3 separate regions of the Homo sapiens genome follow, and all the other regions are linked to region 1. The links are contacts of gene promoters, found by promoter capture Hi-C in human tissues and cell types (Jung and others, 2019). All regions are on one chromosome and are shown on one strand. Each heading gives the region's core, a stretch centred on a gene start or on the middle of the fragment in contact. The rest is flanking DNA. Distances are from core to core; before and after follow the strand shown.

Region 1 (2,696 bases), core at 138-2,637:
TACATTCATCCCTTCTCCAAGTCAAGGTGCCTGGGACCAGGCAATTTCAAGTTACTCGGGAGAAGAAAAAGTCTAGAAGAGACCTGGTGATGGTCCAAAAAGATCTGGGGTAAGAGCGGGGAGCAGAGGCAAAGATGAAGCCAGGAAGTAGGGCCCAGCCTTCAATTAAGCCTCTCCCTAATGTGGGCAAAGGAGGGTATCAAAGGCCCCAGTGTCCAGATTCAAACACAGGAGTTAAGATGGAATTAAGACTTTTGTTTCTGCAACTTAAAAAATAAGGTTATTTTTAAAACCCGGTTATTTTACATCCACTACCCCTTTGGGTACTGCAAAGTGGTTTCCATGACTGGTTTTTGACATCAACGATTGACAACTAGCCCCTCAACTGGAACATATACACAAAATATAACTGTTTCCTAGGCCAGATTCTGAAGAATGTCTGTCAACTCCCCAAATGCAGTCACAGAGCTGCCAAGAGGAGGCAAGAGCACTGTCATGAACTAAATCTAGGATCTTCAACAACTTTTTCAGAAACAAGAATCCCCTTAATTGTAGCTGTTAAACCATCAAAATTAGAATCACCTTAAATTTTCTTTTCTCCAGTTTTCCCCCTCTCCTGCAGTTCTCCAAGACTCTCTTTCAGGTGCCAAAATGGAGGAATGCATCAATACATTTTCCTTGCTGGTTAGAGGTTTTCTCTCGGGGCACAGAGCATGTGGTTTTGCATTTACCGGGGCATGGTTTGTTGCAAAGGCAGGGTTCTCATTCTCAGGAGCACATGGGACAGCAGCAAAAGGAGCAGCAGAAGAGCAGGCTGCCAGAGGATGTCTTCTGCAGAGGAGCCTGTGCACGGGCAGCGAGAAGGAGAGCGGCGCGGCGCTCAGTTCCAGCCTCTGCTGGCCTGTGCACTCCTGGGAATAACTAACTCCTTCAAAGGCCCGGTCAATGGCTGCAGTCAGTTCCTTTCTGCATCTTCTTAGTTTTTCAGACATTTCTCCTAAAAGCGACCATGTCTTTATGTAATGCATTGGAAATGCACAGGACAACACAATAATGTTACAAATGAGGCTGCAAACTACCCCTGAATGGCCACGATTTCCTGGAGCTTGGCCCTGGCTATAGCAGGACCCACAACCCTCGGGCTTTCCTCCTGGAGTAGGCGGTTCTCGGCTCTCGCGGAGGAACCCGCCATCTGCCAGAAGCCCCAAAGACGCCCCGCCCCACTTCCCACAGCTTCCTGGCCCGCCCCGCCGCTGCCTCCCGCCCCACCGCGGCTCCCAGGCCGCTGGCCCTACCGGCACCCCCCCTTTGGCGAGTCGGCAGCCACGTCCTTGTCCTCACCCGCAGCGCAGTGACGCCGACCCATCCAACGGTCATCGCATGCGCGTGCCCCGCGCAGGCCCCAAACCCCCACGGATTAGGTTGAAGGTCAGACAAAAAATCCCGGACCCATACGTCCGGTTCCTTAAGGCCTTGCCCACACGCAGCGGCTGGCCCCGCGGTGGGAGTGGGGACGGGGCTTTCGAATGGGGGCCCCGGGAAGAGTCTTGGCAGGGATGAGGAAAGAACCCGTTCTAGAAAGCATCTGGGTAACACCAAAATGTATTACTACCCTAAATCGCCATGAACTGGAGCCCTTTCCCGGCTAACTCCCACAAAGATTTCTGTTCTCAAGCCAACATGGAAACAACTAGACGGGACACAGCACCGGGCAGTTTTATGTACTGACTTCCTTTAAGCGTTATCTAATAAAAAGTGTGTTATCTAATAAAAGTTCCACACAGTATTTAACCGTCTTAATTCATCTAGGGTAGCAGGGGATATAACAGAACTGCTGGGTTCCACAGGAGGTTGAGGGGCCAGGATCCCCAACACTAGATATCTTCCTTAGCGGGGAGAAAGCTGGAAATTACAAGATGACTCAACGGAGAAATGGGCTTCAGTGGGTAACTTTCAGAAAATTATAAACCCATATCAGTGCACATAGCGAGGGAAAGGGGAGTTTACTTGAGGTTTGGGTTACTGTGAGCAGACTACTTGGGGTGACTAGTATTGGCATCAGAACCAGAAATCCAGGCGCTCAGGGCAGCCCTGCAGGTGGGGTGGGTCTCCAGGCTGCTCCATACTCAGCGCCTGTGTTCCTCTCCATTCTTCGGGATCCATCAGACATACTCCATTGAGTACCCCCATCCCACCCCCTTTTCAGCTTCACAGGTTTCACAGAAATTTCTCACCACCTGTTTAAAAATAAAAATAATTCAGCCTCTTGACATAGCTTCTTCTAGGTAAACGGTCTTCTTTTTTTTTTTTTGTTTCCTTCTGCTCATAAAAGAAGGGTATTTCCTTGTCTGGTTTTTAGACAGAACACTAGCAGTCTGCAGAGTGTCAAAGATGTTCTCCTGGGGGATTACACTGGCGCTACAGGGTGGCAGGATCGTGGAGTCAGCATTAGTTGGTGTCCATGCTGCAAGCCTCATCATCCCCAAAGCCCTGCTGAGAGCTGCTTGGTCGTGTCCCTCCATCAGAGGAACCAGAACTGCTAAGTGAAGGTGTCTTATAAAATTCATCATCTCGACGTTGGTAAAATAGCACATAAGCTGCTTTAGTCTGAAATACAAGAGGGGGAAAGACCATTCAGTGCTTGGAAAAATCACCCATTTTCCCCAGCTTTTCTCTAGCTGTCCAAAACCCTCAAG
Region 2 (2,696 bases), core at 140-2,639, 200 kb before region 1:
CTGCTGTTCTTGCTGGGTTTGTGGCTGAACACTGGTGGTGACTGGACAGGCAAGTTCAAGCAAAGACCCAGCCACTTCAGTGCTGTCTGTGTATATGCAGTTCCCACCCTGTTGGTACACCATGGTAGTGGTGGCTGTCTGCTGGAACTCCTGAAGGGCTTCTGGCCCCTTAGAGGCCAGTGAGTCCAGAAATTCCTTCATCCTGTGTTGCGGGACAGACCGTGCCTTTACTCGGATGTACTCTTCAAAGGAGATGGTGTTCTCTAGGGAATTATTCATATTGCAGAGTCCTTAGGGTTCCTAGAAATAAACAGAAGTCAAAATTATGTTACTGTTTTTAGCAGGAAATGCCCAGAAGCAATTACCCTTGCACAAGAGTGGAATATATTCAGGGCAGCTGTATACATATAGAATCAAAAAATAAAGTTTTATTATACCACCTTATTTTTTCAATTAATGGATGTTTGAAAATTATTTCTATTAACATTTCTTAAATAAAACTATCACACTGAAAACAAAAAAACAAACACATGCTTCACAATACTGGATGAAACAGGCTGAAAACACACTTCCTACCCAGCACTAGGTCAATCCCATCTTCTCTGCAGAGCCAAGCACTGGACAGTAAATGTCACATGCAAAACTGCTCTGTGACCATCACAGAGAGGACACCAAGCAAGGAGGAAGCTAGGGGCAGGGATTCCTATGGATATGTTTTATTTCCAAGTATTTCCTACAGCAGAGATAGGTATGCCACCTAGTTGTGGCAAGACACAAGAGGCAGAGGATATGTTCTTCATCTCCCATCAGAAAAACCAAAAATCCTATTTTGCCATGTGGTGCTCACATTCTTTTGCAACACAGCTTACTACTGGTTAAAAGCATGGACTCTGGAGCCAGGCTGCCTGGGTTCAAATCCCAACTTTATGTCTCCTTTATTATGTAACTCTAGAAAAGTCAATTAACCTTAGTTTTCTTGTGAGTAAATGGGGACACAATAGTACTTACCTCACAGTTGACATAAGGATTAAATAAGGCATTTAGAAAATCATCTAGCACATAGATAGCACTACAGAAATGTAACTAATACTATTAAAATAATTCTGGAAAAAAGGTAAATAGTGCTTTAAATATCCAGGTCACTACTAAAATTCAGAAATAAATTCTACAAGTTTTCATCAGGTATTTAATTACCTTAAGAATTAACCTGCAGACGTACAGTTAACTCTCATCATCTGAGGGAAAAGTGTGCAATCTGTGGACTGCTGACCCCTGTCGCTGCTACCTTTGTACCATCCTCCCTTCAACAGCCCGACCTCCAGAACAAAAGTAGCAGCAGGATGAAAGAGTAACAGAAAACAAGCGAACGTTTTTGCCAAAAAGGATTATCAGACAATTCTGAATGTCTGGAAAGGTGATTTGTTCCCTTGAGCAATCAGGATAGATACACTAGACTGACCAGATGCTCTACCTTATGTTACAGATATAAAATATGTGGGTAAACGTCTCCTTTCTTCTACCTAGGCTCTAAGTTCTTGGTAGACAAGACTATGTCCTGGTTCTCTCCGAATAGCTCACCCATGGTAGTTGCTTCATATATACCTGCTGCATTTGAAATTCAATGTGGAAAACGAAGAATTATGGTTCCTTTTTTTTTTTTTTTTTTTTTTTTTTGAGATGGAGTCTCATTCTGTTGCCCAGGCTGGAGTGCAGTGGCTTGATCTTGGCTCACTGCAAGCTCCACCTCCTGGGTTCACACCATTCTCCTGCCTCAGCCTCCCGAGTAGCTGGGACTACAGGCGCCCACCACCACGCCCAGCTAATTTTTTTGTATTTTTAGTAGAGACGAGGTTTCCCCATCTTAGCCAGGATGGTCTCGATCTCCTGACCTCGTGATCCGCCTGCCTCAGCCTCCCAAAGTGCTGAGATTACAGGCGTGAGCCACCACACCTGTCCTTTTTTTTTTTTTTTTTTTTTGAGTTGGAGTCTCCCTCTGTCGCCCAGGCTGGAGTGCAGTGGCACGATCTCGGCTCACTGCAGCCTCCCAGGTTCAAGTGATTTTCCTGCCTCAGCCTCCCGAGTAGCTGGGACTACAGGTGCCCACCACCATGCCCAGCTAATTTATGTATTTTTAGTAGAGACTGGGTTTTGCCATGTTGGCCTGGCTGGTCTCAAACTCCTGACTTCAGGTGACCCTCCCGCCTCGGCCTCCCAAAGTGCTGGGATTATAGACGTGAGCCACCCAATTGGTTTCTGTAATATCCATAGCTCCACGGACTCAAGCAATCCTTCCACCTCAGCCCAGGCAACATGGAGAAACCCCATCTCTACAAAAAATATATAAAAATTAACTGGGTATGGTGGTATGCACCTGTAGTCCCAGCTACTACGGAGGCTAAGGTAGAAGGATTGCTTGAGCCCAGAGATCGAGGCTGCAGTGACCCGAGATCACTCGAATGCACTCCAGCCTAGGCGACAGAGCGTAACTCTGTCTAAAAAAAACAAACAAACAAACAAACAAAAAAATTAAGTTATCAGCTGGTCACAGTGGTGCACACATGTAGTCTCAGCTACTCAGGAGGCTGAGGTGGAGGATTGCTTGAGACCAGGTCTTTGGGCTGGGAAACCTAGAGAGACTTTCATCTGTTAAAAGAAATAAATAAATAAAATAAAATAAATAATTATAATAAAATATT
Region 3 (2,696 bases), core at 74-2,573, 140 kb before region 1:
CTTTGGGAGGCCAAGGCAGGCAGATTACAAGGTCAGGAGTTTGAGACCAGCCTGGCCAATGTAGTGAAAACTCATCTCTACTAAAAATAACAAAAATTAGCTGGATGTGGTGGCGGGTGCCTGTAATCCCAGCTACTCAGAAGGCTGAGGCAGGAGAATCGCTTGAACCCAGGAGGTGGCGGTTGTGGTGAGCCGAGATCACGCCACTGCACTCCAGCCTGGGTGACAGAGCGAGACTCTCCCTCTCAAAAATAATAATAATAATACTAAAATAAAAAGAGCCAATTGTTAAATTTTCAGGAATTTTGCAAATAAGTTGTCAAATGGTATGGACTGAAATCAATCATGATAGCATTACTTACATCATGGATATTGACAAATGCTAAAAATCAGTTTCCCCTGACTCACAGCCAGTTGTTAAAAATTTATCTACACACATGGCCAGATGCGGTGGCTCACGCCTGTAATCCCAGCACTTTGGGAGGCGAAGGCGGGTGGATCATGAGGTCAGGAGTTCAAGACCAGCCTGGCCAAGATGGTGAAACCCCGTCTCTACTAAAAATACAAAAAAAAATTACAGTGTGCCTGTAATCCCAGCTACTTGGGAGGCTGAGGTGGGAGAATCGCTTGAACCCGGGGGGCGCAGGTTGCAGTGAGCCGAGATTGCACCACTGCACTCCAGCCTGGGTGACAGAGCAAGACTCCCTCTCAAAAAAAAAAAAAAAATTTACGCACACACTAGTGTTCCCACTTGACCCCTGGTCAGCCCTGATGAATATTCCTCATTCTGGAAGGAGTATCATGATAGTGTCCTGCATACCCTATTAACCCTGCCCTTGGCTGTGAACAGACATGCAACAAGCAGATATGTACCCATGAGGAAGCGCTGGATGATCTGCACGGCTGCTTGCATGTGGGTCATGGCAGTCATGCCCCAAGGTCCCCTTTCCCAATACCATGTCTCCTGTGCCTGGATTCCTGTGGAGCTTGCTATGGCCTGGATTTGCTGCAGCTGGTGGGCGTGGGTCAGATGTGGAATATGTTGCCTACAACACCATGTCCAAGCCATGGTTTCCTGTGACTCCCCCATGGCTCCCACCCACAGTCCCCCTGGCTGTGTACCTGTTGTTGATGCTGCTCCAAGGCTGTGACTCTATGTCCAGGCTATGGGAGGAGTTGTGGAAGGCAACAAGAGCCCACTGAACAGTGGGCAGGGTCCCAGGTTGGAGGGAGCAGCCTGTGCCTGCTACAGTACCCAATCTAGGACCTGCAGGTGTCCACCCTGGCCCCTAACACCCCCACCAGGCATCCCCTAGCATAGGGTGGCCACCTCTTGGGCCACAGCTTCCAGCTGCAGTGGGAGCAGAGCCAGGAGTTGGTCTCAGAAGGTGAAGCAGGTGGGACAGGAGGTGCAGTGTGGGAAGGCACCTCTGGAGCCATGAGCACATGCCTGGCACCTCAGCCCTAAGATGCCCTCTCTGAAGAAGCAGGTGCCCATGTGTGAATCACAGCTGGGCAAGATGGAGCCCTGTGGGTCACAGGCACAGGCTGCAGAGGAGAGATAGGGTCAGGGTAGAGAGCAGATGACACTAGCTCTAGCCTTACCTTCGAGAGACCTGAAGGATGGGCCAGGTGCAGTGACTCACACCTGTAACCCCACCACTTTGGGAGGCTGAGGCAGGAGGATCACTTGAGCTCAGGAGTTTGAGACCAGCCTGAGCAACATAGGGAGATCCTGTCTCTACAAAAAAATTTAAAAATTAGCCAGGTGTGGCGGCGTGTGCTGTAGTCTCAGCTACTCAGCAGGATGAGGTGGGAGGATCACTTGAACCTGGGAGGTTGAGGCTGTAGTGAGCTAAGATCATGCCACTGTACTCCAGCCCAGGTGACAGAGTGAGACCCTATTTCTTTTCCTTTTTTTTTTTTTGTGAGACAGAGTCTCGCTCTGTAAGTGTAGTGGTGCGATCTCGTCTCACTGCAACCTTCACCTCCCAGGTTCAAGCAATTCTCCTGCCTCAGCCTCCTGAGCAGCTGTGACTACAGGCAACCGCCAACATGCCTGGCTAATTTTTTTTTTTTTGTATTTTTAGTAGAGACGGGGTTTCACCATATTGGCTAGGCTGGTCTTAAACTCCTGACCTCATGATCTACCCGCCTCGGCCTCCCAAAGTGTTGGGATTACAGGCGTGAGCCACTGTGCCTGACCCATGAGACCCTATTTCTGAAAAAATAATAGGTCTGTGGGAGGCTAAGGTGGGTGGATCACTTGAGCTCAGGAGTTCAAGACCAGCCTGGGCAACATGGAAAAACCCCATCTCTACAAAAAATACAAAAATTAGCTGGACATGGTGGGGCACACCTGTGGTCCCAGCTCCTCAGGAGATAAGGCGGGAGGATCCCTTGAGCCTGGAAGGTTGAGACTGCAATGAGCCAAGATTGTGCCACTGCACTCCAGCTTGGGTGACAGAGTGAGAGCCCGTCTCAAAAAAAAATGTCTGAAGGGGCTGAGCACGGTGGCTCACGCCTGTAATCCCAGCACTTTGGGAGGCTGAGGCGGGCAGATCACGAGGTTAGGAGATTGAGACCATCCTGGCTAACATGGTGAAATCCCGTCTCTATTAAAAATACAAAAACAAAATTAGCCGGGCGTGGTGGCGGGCACCTGTAGTCCCAGCTACTCAGGAGGCTGAGGCAGG

The links. Contacts are between HindIII fragments. The study calls those that stand out against the background at their distance.
Region 2: a fragment that was not itself captured here is called in contact with the fragment with the promoter of C3orf62 in region 1 in 2 of the 25 tissues and cell types used here (pancreas and stomach).
Region 3: a fragment that was not itself captured here is called in contact with the fragment with the promoter of C3orf62 in region 1 in 16 of the 25 tissues and cell types used here (IMR-90 fibroblasts, aorta, bladder and 13 more).

Annotation. Positions count from the first base shown.
Region 1 is chr3:49,275,845-49,278,540 of GRCh38, forward strand. It overlaps C3orf62 (chromosome 3 open reading frame 62), which reads right to left and starts at 1,388. Exons shown (of 3, transcript NM_198562.3): 1 at 583-1,388. The coding sequence starts at 1,028. USP4 (ubiquitin specific peptidase 4) reads right to left here. Exons shown (of 22, transcript NM_003363.4): 22 at 1,300-2,607. The coding sequence ends at 2,449. RefSeq lists an enhancer at 1,002-1,071 and a silencer at 1,212-1,411. The HindIII fragment of the contact is 22,568 bases long and covers 1-2,696 here.
Region 2 is chr3:49,076,739-49,079,434 of GRCh38, forward strand. It overlaps QRICH1 (glutamine rich 1), which reads right to left. Exons shown (of 10, transcript NM_198880.3): 2 at 1-300. The coding sequence starts at 279. Among named protein-coding and RNA genes, the nearest start is that of QRICH1, 16 kb to the right of the region's middle. The HindIII fragment of the contact is 7,025 bases long and covers 1-2,696 here.
Region 3 is chr3:49,136,824-49,139,519 of GRCh38, forward strand. All of the region lies in intron 1 of LOC124909377 (a long non-coding RNA gene), which reads left to right. Among named protein-coding and RNA genes, the nearest start is that of LAMB2, 5.1 kb to the left of the region's middle. The HindIII fragment of the contact is 9,716 bases long and covers 1-2,696 here.